Regions from separate parts of the Homo sapiens genome. Here region 1 is linked to region 2. Evidence: promoter capture Hi-C in human tissues and cell types (Jung and others, 2019). All regions are on one chromosome and are shown on one strand. The core of a region is centred on a gene start or on the middle of the fragment in contact, and the rest is flanking DNA. Distances in the headings are between cores, read along the strand shown.

Region 1 (5,394 bases), core at 1,066-3,565, 420 kb after region 2:
TTGAAAGTTAAAGAAACAATGGAGACCAGAGAAGAATAAAATGACATCTTTAAATTGATTAAAGGAAAAAAACTGAGGCTGGGCGTGGTGGCTCACGCCTGTAATCCCAGCACTTTGGGAAGCCGAGGCAGACGGATCACGAGGTCAGGAGATCGAGACCATCCTGGCTAACACAGTGAAACCCCGTCTCTACTAAAAATACAAAAAATTAGCTGGGCGCCGTGGCAGGCGCCTATAGTCCCAGCTACTTGGAAGGCTGAGGCAGGAGAATGGCGTGAACCCAGGAGGCGGAGCCTGCAGTAAGCCGAGATAGTGCCACTGCACTCCTGCCTAGGTGACAGGGCAAGACTCTGTCTCAAAAAAAAAAAAAAAAAAGAGAGAAAAAAAACCATCAACTGAGAATTCTATATCCAGCAAAAATATCCTTGAAAAATGACAGTAAAATATAGATATATTTAAAGTAATGAAAACTGATGCTATTACTAGACCTATGCATTATGCAACATTAAAGGAAATTCTTGGTGGCATGTGCCTGTAGTCCTAGCTACCCAGGAGGCTAAGGCAGGAGGACTGCTTGAGCCCAGGAATTTGAGGTTACAGTGAACTGGGTACACCACTGCACTTCAGCCTGAGCAATACAGTGAGACCCTGTCTCTAAATAAGTTAATAAAATGGAATATTTAAAAACTACAATAATCTCAATAAATACCAAAAAGGAGAGAGGGTATCTGACAAAATTCAGCACCCATTCATAATTTAAAAATAAAAATCCTGGCCAGGCGCGGTGGCTCACGCCTGTAATCCCAGCACTTTGGGAGGCCAAGGCAGGTGGATCACAAGGTCAGGAGTTCGAGACCAGCCTGGCCAACATAGTGAAACCCCATCTCTACTAAAAATACAAAAAAATTTGCTGGGCGTGGTGGCGGGTGCCTGTAGTCCCAGATACTTGAGAGGCTGAGGCAGAATTGCTTGAACCCGGGAGGTGGAGGTTGCAGTGCGCCAAGATCACACCACTGCACCCCAGCCTAGGTGACAGAGTGAGACTCCATCTCAAAAAGTAAATTAATTAATTTGATTTAATTAAAATCCCAGTAAACTGGAAGGAAACGTCTCGTCTGATTTTCTTTTTTTTAATCTACAGAATATCCACTGCTGACATACTACTTACTGGGGAAAGACTAAATGCCTTCCCCCTTAAGATCACAACAAGACCAGGATGTTCACTCTCATTTAAAAAAAAATTCATCATTTTAAAACATATTTTATGTTAACACTGAAATTAATTTTCTTTTTTTTTTTTTTGAGACAGAGTCTCGCTGTCGCCAGGCTGGAGTGCAGTGGCACGACCTCTGCTCACTGCAACCTCTGCCTCCCAGGTTCAAGCAATTCTCCTGCCTCAGCCTCCTGAGTAGCTGGTACTACAGATGCACACCACCATGCCCAACTAATTTTTGTATTTTTTAGTAGAGACAGGGTTTCACCATGTTAGCCAGGATGGTCTCTATCTCTTGACCTTGCAACCCCCGCACCCCCTGCCGCCCCCCCCTCGGCCTCAGCCTCCCAAAGTGCTCGGATTACAGGCATGGGCCACTGCGCCCGGCCTCTTTCTTTTTTTTAAAGAGACAGGATCTCTCTGTGTTACCCAGGCTGGACTCGAACTCCTGGGCTCAAGCAATCCTCTTGCTTCCCAAGTAGTTGGGACTACAGGACCATACCACTGCACCCAGCCACTCTCACCATTTCTCTTCAATGTTGTATTGAAGATCCCAGATGCTGCAATAACATGTGAAAAAGAAATTAAAGGGCCAGGCACACTGGCTCATGCCTGTAATCCCAGCACTTTGGGAGGCTGAGGCAGGAAGATCACTTGAGCCTAGGAGTTCAACACCAGCCTGGGCAACATGGCGAACCCCATCTCTACAAAAAATACAAAAAAAAAAAAAAATGAGCCAGCCATGGTGGCACGTATCTGTAGACCCAGCTACTCAGGAGGCTGAGATAGGAGGGTGGCTTGAGCCCAAAAGTTCCAGGCTGCAGTGAGCTATGATGGCGCCACTAAACTCTAGCCTGGGAGAGTGAGACGCTGTCTCAAAAAAATAAAAAATAAAAAGAACTCAAAGCACAATCCATAAAACAAAAAGTTGATTGACTGGACTTCATCAAATTTTAAAACTTCCACTCATCAAAATACTGTTAAAAAAAAGATAAGGCAAGCTACAAAACAGGAGAAAATACTCTTAATACTCTGATCTGACATAGAATTTGTATCGTGAGTACATTAAGAATTCCTGCATATCAATAGTAAAAAGATAATCCATTTTTTAATGGGCAGAAAGCTTGAAGAGGCATCCTACGAAAGAAAATATACTGTCAACAACCATGCAAAAAGGTGCTCAACATCACTAGATATCAAGGAAATCCAAAATAAAACCACAATGAGATACCCTTCCACACCCACTAGAATAGCTAAAATTAAAAAGATTGACTAACCAAGTGTTGGTGAGGATGTAAAACAACTAGAACATTCATATATTCAGGTGGGAATATAAAAAGGAAAACCACTTTGAAAAACTAGTTTCCTGTAAAGTTAAACACACATATGCCTACAAACCAGCAATTCCATTCCTAGGTATTTACTCAAGAGAAATGAAAACACACACTTGCAAAAAGATCTGTATAGGCCTTATTCATAATAGTCAAAAACTGGATTCTACCCAAATGTCCATCAACAGAAGATAAACTGTGAAATATTCCCCCAATGAAATATTACTTAGCAATAAAAACTGATACATCCAACCCCATGGATGAATCTCAAAATATGTTAAGCAAAAGAAGCCAGATACACAAGAGCACACACTGTATGAAGATAGAACAAAACTAATCTACATTTAAAAATCAAAGAGTGTTTGGAGGCAAAAGAAATTGAATGGAGAGAGCAACAAGGAAACGTTGTGGGGTAATAAAAATGCTCTACATCTTCTTGTGGTTATTGGTTACATGTGTATAATCATCACACCTCATCAAAGTGAACAGCTAAGATCTGCACATTTTACTGTATTTTAATTACACCTCAATAAAAATAAAATTTTATATTTCTAAATAAATCTGTGAGCTTAATATTGTATTAATTTTCCTTGTCTTGGGTTGTCACATATATGTTTAGTATATATACATTATTACACATATTCAATAAATATTCATCATCTACAATGCGCTGAAATCTTTGCTAGATCCCAAAGTAACTGCAAGTCCATGGCCTCAAGAAGCCCACCTCGGCCTCCTAAAGTGCTGGAATTACAGATGTAAGCCACTGTGTGTGGCTGCCAGCATTTTCTTTTATTTCCTTATAGGTCCTTTGAACCCCCCAAACAATGAAATGTTCTAGCATCCTATTGTTAGACCCTTTGTCTCTGTGTCTAATTGATAGTTCTCTGCTTATTAACAGCTCAGTTTGGTTTATTCACGTGTCCAAAGTTCTCCTTTTCATCTTCTATTCAGGACCCAATAGGAAGGTTTTTCCAATACCTAACTCTTCTTTTAGGGAATGCATGGTGGTTCTTTCTCCTTCTCACAGACTCTGTGTATACCTCTATTGTGGAAATCCCATGCTATGTGTTACTATTTGTTTAAGTATGTGGTTCCTTCTACATAGTTGTGTTTTGAAACCCCCAGAAGGATATAACATAACATTAACATATATAAACTTTTGTGGGAGTCTAGGAATGAGGCAAATGGGGAAGGAATGAGAGGTTTTTTATTGTGTATCTTTTTCCTTTTTGCCGTCTTACTTTTGGAGTATATATGTGCATATAATTTAAAATAATAATAACCTTTAAAAATACTATATCAGAATCAACAGGATTTGGTAACTTATGTAATGTGAGAGTTAGGGGAGATGGAGAAGTCAAGATGACTCCCAGGTTTCTAGCATGATGATAAACCTAGTCATGTCATCCCCTACAACATTTTTTTTTTTAAGAAAGAAATCTGTTATTAATCAAGGTACAAGTTGGAAAGATGTTAAAGAGTAAGAGAAGGTAGATCAGTTTGGGATATATTGTACTGGAGGTGTTGTGTCCAACAGTGCACTAGAAAAAGAAGATGGGAAATTCAGGAGAATGGTCAGGGGACATAGTTGTTACTAGAAGCCTTGGAGAAGAAGACACGTATATGAGGCTAATTTATCTAGGAATTACTTATTCTGTAAGACCAATTAACAGGGATGAAACCAAGACCCACAGAATAAACTAAAAAAGCAACTATATCAAAACGACAGCGTAAGACCATATATTGGTATCCTTTTCATACAGACATCAGGCTCTCACTAAAAGATTATTTACTAATTTAGTCCCCCAGGTTCATAACAGATTAGAAACATCAAAAAAAGGTGTAGGAATAGCTTCCAGAGGCAATCATCTGGCAGCAGCATGAGGGTACAAAAACAAAAACAAATAGTTTAAGACTTCAAAAAGCATTGCATTCTTTACTCTTCATTAAAGCCAGAAATCCCATCTTTCCATCATCTAAGACTTGGTCAAAATGGTTGCTCCTTCAAGAATTTTTTCATAGTTCCTGTACTCTCAGAGTAACATGACTAATCTCCATTTGTCAAGTTTCCAATTCCAAATATTGTATTGAGCCCTTCCTGAAGGCACTAACTATACTCTGGCTTGTTTTATAAGTATTTTTATACCAGCCTCTTTCCTCCCACTTGAATATACATCTCTTGATTGAGTATCTTTCATCTTTGTATCTCTAGCCAGCACTGTGCACCACATCCTTGCACAGTATGGAAGTATGCAAACATCCATTCAGTAATTATCCCATTTTTGCATTCTCTAAAACTATGTAAATGGACTTTGCCACACAGTCTCCCTGCAAAAAGTTATAACTGCTTTTTTACTGTGTACTTACATTTTGGCACCAACCTAAGCATTTGACCTGGCTTATCCCAAACACTAAAGAAATAAGGGGTGATGGGAAGTGACAGCTAGTAGGTTCGGGGGTTTTATTTTTATGCTTTTTAACCAGCATATAATTGTACATGTTTGTGGGTTACATGGTGATACTTCAACATATACAATGTGTAATGATCAAATCGGGGTAATTAACATATCCATCACTTCAAACATTTATCATTTATTTGTGTTGGGAACATTCAAAAGCCTCTCTTCTAGCTAGTTGAAAATATGTAACAACAACACAGGTTTGAACTGTGCAGGTTCATTTATACATGGATTTTTTTCAGTAAAAGTTACAGTGCGCCTCCCTCTCCTGCCTCCTCTTCCACCTCCTCTCTCTCTTCCACCTTGCCACCCTCGAGACAACAAGACTAATCCTTCCTTTTCCTCCTTCTCCTCAACCTATTCAACAGGAAGACAAGAAGGCTGACGA
Region 2 (5,570 bases), core at 80-2,579:
TGTTTTGACACTTTCACAACAGTGTGAACTTGTGCCACAAGCAAGACAGATCTTATTGGATTAACACTGAACTCGTGACAGCTCCAGAGAGTAATGCTATCTGTGCGGCTTAAGAACAAACGTGTTTCTTTCATCCACCCTGCTCATTCTCTTCCTGCAGTTACTCCTAGCAAATCCTCCCCGCCCTCACCTCTAGGAATTCCTCTACACCCAGAGAAAGGAGTTTCTTTCCTCACTGCGGAAACCTATCACCGCTTCCTTTCCACAGATGGACTCCAAGGGGCACTCACTCGTGTGCCCACTAAGGGATTTCTCTCCTAATTCCACGCCTTCCAAGGGAAGTCAGAACTGCTCAGTTTCCCCCGGTGACCACATACACGTGTCCAAGTGAAGCCTCGTCTGGGGGAGACTCAGTTCCCACACTTCCCCCTGGCCCCTGTGGAGGCCCTCTGTCTCCCCTGCGTGGCCCTCCGCCTGGCCCCTCGCACTCACCAGGAGGAGGTTGTGCGCCACCAGGTACCCGAGCCGCGGGCTGCCCCGGATGCCGGGGGCCAGGCGCCCGGTGGCGTAGCCGTGCCAGGCCACCACGTAGGGGTTGTCGATGGTGATCCAGTACTTGACCTGACCGCCGAAGTGGCGGAAGCAGAGCTCCGCGTAATCCCTGAAGTGGTCGGCCAGGGCGCGGTTGGCCCAGCCGCCGTAGGCGTCCTGCAGGCGCTGGGGCAGGTCCCAGTGGTACAGGGTGACCACGGGCTGCACGCCCAGCTCCCGCAGCCGCTCCAGCAGGCGCCGGTAGTAGCGCAGCCCCTCGCGGTTGGGGACGCCCGCGCTGCCATTGGGGAGCACTCGCGCCCACGAGATGGAGAAGCGGTAGTGAGTGACCCCGAGCTCGCGCAGCGCCTCCGTGTCGCGGAAGACGTTGTTGTAGCTGTCGCTGGCTACGTCCCCGGTGGCGGGCTGCAGCGGCGACGGGGCGCCCAACGGCAGACTGGCGTTCCGGGAGTCTCCCGGGGGTGCCAGGGGGTGGTGGGTGAACGTATCCCAGATGGACGCACCCTTGCCGTGCTGCTGCCAGCCGCCCTCGGTCTGGTAGGCGGCGCTGCCCACGGCCCAGAGGAAGCCGTCGGGGAAGGTGCCCTGGAAGAGGCCCGCGGCCTCGGGGGCAGGAGGCCGCGAGAAACGGGCCCAGGTCTGCGCGCCGTCGCCCGGCTCCGCACGCAGGCGGCGGCCGCCCAGGCCCAGCAGCACCAGCAGCAGCGACAGCGACGGCGGCGGCGGCCGCGGGCGGCGCGGCGGGGCGCTGGCGGGCATGCTGCGCGGGAGCCAGGCTCCGGGGCCCCGCGCCGCGCCCCTTTATGCCCGCGCCCCGCCGCGCCCGCCCGCCCACCGCCGGCGCGCCCACCCCCGCTCCCCGGCGGGCTCCGCTGGCAATAATTACCTGCGAGCCGGGACTGCCTCCGCCCTGGCACTGGGGGCGGGGGCAGGGGCGCCGAGGGCGAGGGGTGCCCGGGAGGGGCGCGGCAGCGGGCAAGGTGCGGCAGGCGTCGCCCGCGGACGTCGGAGAAAGGCACCTGTTTCTCCCAGCTCCCGGGAGCCGTGCAGGACGTTTCGTGGACGCTCAGGTTCATTCTCTTTGCCTGCCGCGCGTCCTCTGAGAGCAGCCCTGGAGCGGCTTCGTCGGGGAGAAAAGGCGCCGACCAACTTTCCCCGACTTGGGGGCGGGATCCTGCCGGGCCCTAGCGGAGCGCGCCGCTGGGGAAGCACCTGCTCTCACTTTTCTCCCACTCGGAGGCCCAAAGAAGCTCCGGCTGGACATTGCTGGAGCCAATTAGGGACTGGCCGAAATCCTAGAGGGACTGCCAGGTGGGACAGCCGAGGGGGAACTTCGCCGTGCGCTGAAAGGGATTCCCCCTTAGGTGAGATGCTCGCGGGGAGACGCGCCCACCCGCGCCCCTCTTTCGAGGAAGACAAAGTAGATTTATGGGTTGCGTTGGGACTGGGGTTTTGCTCTCCCTTTTACTGTTACCTTTTAATAATTTCAAACCAGCACTCTATCTTTGATTAGATCTCTCAGAATACCCTGGTGAACTTCAAATCACAGTCGTTGATTGTTCTCCTGAAAAACCAAACACCAAGTTTCCAATTTTGAGTAAATCTCATTCACCTTTATTATCCTTTGGCATCTGTGTTACCTTTCGGCTCTGACTTAGCAGGTAATCTGTGCAAAGTTGTGCGCACAGGTCTGCTGGAGCGGGAGGTCCCTGGGTCGCACATTTGCCATCTGAGCTGTGGAGGGAAAGGGGAGGGAGAATTTAGCCGGAACACCCATTCCCATCCTCTACAATACAATGGAGCCATGACGTTTTTCCTGTTGCCAAAGAGCCCTTTTGACAGAAGTTGCAGAGCCACAGTGTCCATTTGGATGTGGGTAGATAGGATTGTGGCTAACCGAAATACAGTTGGTGGAGACTGAGAAGGTCTAGGCTCCACCTTTGTGATTTGGGGCAGGAAACCTCTGTAAGCCTAAGTTTCCTCCTCTATAAAATAAGGATGTCCTGTCTGCCCTGCCGCCTCAGAGGCTTGTGAAGTCCAGTGAAAAACTGCGCAAAGGTGACTCAAAGACAGAAAGCCCAGACAAGTGAAGGATCTTGCTAATATCCCTACCTCCCTACCCAGTAAGTCGTGCCTTAGTTTCCTCACCCGTACACGTGTGTTGAATGACCAAGATCCTCACAGAGGTGCATCCATTCTCCCCCAGTGATCTATCTTCCCTGCATTATTTAATACAAATTTAAAGGCAATAACATTTTAAATGTTGCAGATGAAGGTGCTTTTATTAATTCCCCTGAAATATAAGCACAAATTTATTCCAGTATTTTATGAAATATTCCCAACTCCAGCCAGCATATATTACCATGATTAGTAAGATTAAGTCTTCAGATTGAAACAGAGTTACTGCCATTCTGTTAAATATAGCATTTACATTTTTTCAATAAATACGAAATAGCAAACCATGACACTTCAGCAATTTTAAAAAATTACAGCACACAACTTCACTGTCACGCTGTCTTCCAGCTAAATTTAAAAAGCTACGTCTACATGGAGTATCACATTTCCCTTCTAGAAGTGAAGATTGGAGTGTCTGTTGGGTTGTAGCTTGTTAAGTTTCAATTAGAAATGCTTCATGGGTCTCATGGAAAATCGCTTAAGCTAAGTATTCATTTATTGATGTATGGTCTGTTTGCTCAGGGCAGATTTTATCTATTGCTATTTTTACTTGACCAGCAGCATTTTTTAAATTTTAAAGCAGTGATTAAAAAGCAAGACCAAGTTAACTAAACGTTTCACATTTGAAATTTGTCTGCCACATAGGCACATGCATCTCAAAGCTTTAAGCATTCCAAGACATGTTCCCAGATGATTGTTCATTTAACCCAGTGATAAAGATTGCATGATGATTAAACTTTATTTCCAGAACTTTCTGTTTATTAAGGTTCTGTTCATGGTTACTAAGTTCTGGGTTCCACAAGTGTGAGACGGAGTCTCACTCTGTCGCCCAGGCTGGAGTGCAGTGGCATGGTCTCTGCTCACTGCAACCTCTGCCTCCCAGGTTCAAGCAATTCTCCTGTCTCAGCCCCCCAGTAGCTGGGATTATAAGGGCACACCACCACACCTGGCTAATTTTTGTATTTTTAGTAGAGACAGGGTTTCACCATGCTGACCAGGCTGGTCTCAAACTCCTGATCTCCTGTGATCCACCCACCTCGGTCTCCTAAAATGCTGGGATTACAGGTGTGAGACACTGTGCCCGGCCTAGTGCTGCTGCTTATTTATTTTGGCTTTATTTTGGTTTTTATTTTTTACAACCACCTTCAAACATCTGAAACTTGGGTTTCAAATGCAAATAAGAGATTAATTACTTGCTGTGCTTTGAACAGGAAGGTGAAGTTATTGATGCATTGAAGAAAAGGACATTGTAAATTTATTTACTGACTTTGATTTTGGTGACAATTTCAACACTGAAAGTTGTCAACAATCTGATCAACTTTTCCTCCATTCTCCACATTCCTTCATCCAGTGCCTTCCCACCTGTTCTCTTTCCTATTGTGTTCCCAGGACGATGGGAGCCTTTTAACACCAATGGAGCAGGAGATGCACTGATTCACATGCACCCAAATACAACACCAACCCCACAAGCTCTCAGCTCACCAGTCACAGACATCACCTTCTACGGACATATTTTTATTTCACTGAGCTACAACTACGGGCAAGGCAACGACGAGCTGTGTGGAGACTTCAAAACATAGAGGACAACCTCTGCCCTCAAAGACAACATCCAACTGAAGAAAGGATCAAGAAAGATGAAAATAAATAAGTTGTTTGATTATGCTGTGTTAATAAATGACCCATAGAATAATTGTCAGAGAAATTCAGAAGAAGAAGAAATTACCCTATTTTGAGTTGTTTGGAAAAGTTTAACAGAGAAAAATATGACAATATCTGGGGTTTAAAGAGTAAAACTCGCACAAAGACCTGGAGGGAAGGAATCAAGAGATGCCAACACTGAAGAAAAAAACATGTTCATAGTGTATTCGTGGTGAAAAGAAAGGGTTTTTGTGCGCAAGGAAGTAATGGACCAAAATGCAGTAGTCCCAGTGCCTAGAATCATGCTGAGCACAAAACAAGTATTTGTTTAATGAGCAAATGAAAGTAGAGTTTCATTTGTCCAGTTAACAAAATACACAAGTATTCCCTGCCCTCCTCTTTTTAAAATTAATTAATTAATTAATTTTTAACAGACAAAAAATTATATATATTTTCATGTACAGCATGTTATTTTAAAATATATACACATTTGTAGAGTGGCTAAATTGAGCTAATAAACGTATGTATTACCTCACATACTTATTTTTTTTGTGGTAAGAAGACTTAAAATCTGGCCGGGCGTGGTGGCTCACACCTGTAATCCCAGCACTTTGAGAGGCCGAGGCAGGTGGACCACCTAAGGTCAGGAGTTCGAGACCAGCCTGGCCAACATGGTGAAACTCCTGTCTCTACTAAAAATACAAAAATTCACCAACATGGTGGCAGGCACCTGTAATCCCAGCTACTCAGGAGGCTGAGGCAGGAGAATCACTTGAACCCGGGAGGCGGAGGTTGCAGTGAGCTGAGATCACACCACTGTACTCCAGCTTTGGCAACAGAGCAAGAGTCTGTTTCAAAAAAGAAAAAAGAAAAGAAAAGAAGAAAAGAAAGAAAAAGAAGAATACTTAAAATCTACTCTGAGATTTTCAAAAATACAATATATTGTTATTAACTATAGTCACCATGTGGCACTATAGATCTCTTGGCTTATTCCTCCATCTAATTGAAATTTTGCATCCTTCAAGCAATATCTCCCCACCCCTCCACTCCCACATCTCATCTTTTGGCAACCATCGTTCTCCTCTCTGCTTCTGTGAGTTCAACTTTTTCAGACTCCACATATAACTGAGATCATACAGTATTTGTCTTTCTGTGCATGGCTTATTTCATTTAACATAATGCCCTCCAGGTTCATCCATGTCATC

What was found. Contacts are between HindIII fragments. The study calls those that stand out against the background at their distance.
Region 1: a fragment that was not itself captured here is called in contact with the fragment with the promoter of KL in region 2 in 1 of the 25 tissues and cell types used here (dorsolateral prefrontal cortex).

Annotation. Positions count from the first base shown.
Region 1 is chr13:32,593,752-32,599,145 of GRCh38, reverse strand. The region is part of intron 1 of PDS5B (PDS5 cohesin associated factor B); the gene reads right to left. Among named protein-coding and RNA genes, the nearest start is that of PDS5B, 10 kb to the right of the region's middle. The HindIII fragment of the contact is 7,594 bases long and covers 1-5,394 here.
Region 2 is chr13:33,012,182-33,017,751 of GRCh38, reverse strand. It overlaps KL (klotho), which reads right to left and starts at 1,329. Exons shown (of 5, transcript NM_004795.4): 1 at 493-1,329. The coding sequence starts at 1,311. It overlaps LOC124903151 (translation initiation factor IF-2-like), which reads left to right and starts at 1,299. Exons shown (of 2, transcript XM_047430819.1): 1 at 1,299-1,916; 2 at 4,117-4,900. The coding sequence starts at 1,310. The coding sequence ends at 4,307. RefSeq lists enhancers at 304-363, 572-1,149, 1,150-1,725 and silencers at 434-533, 1,224-1,293. The HindIII fragment of the contact is 14,739 bases long and covers 1-5,570 here.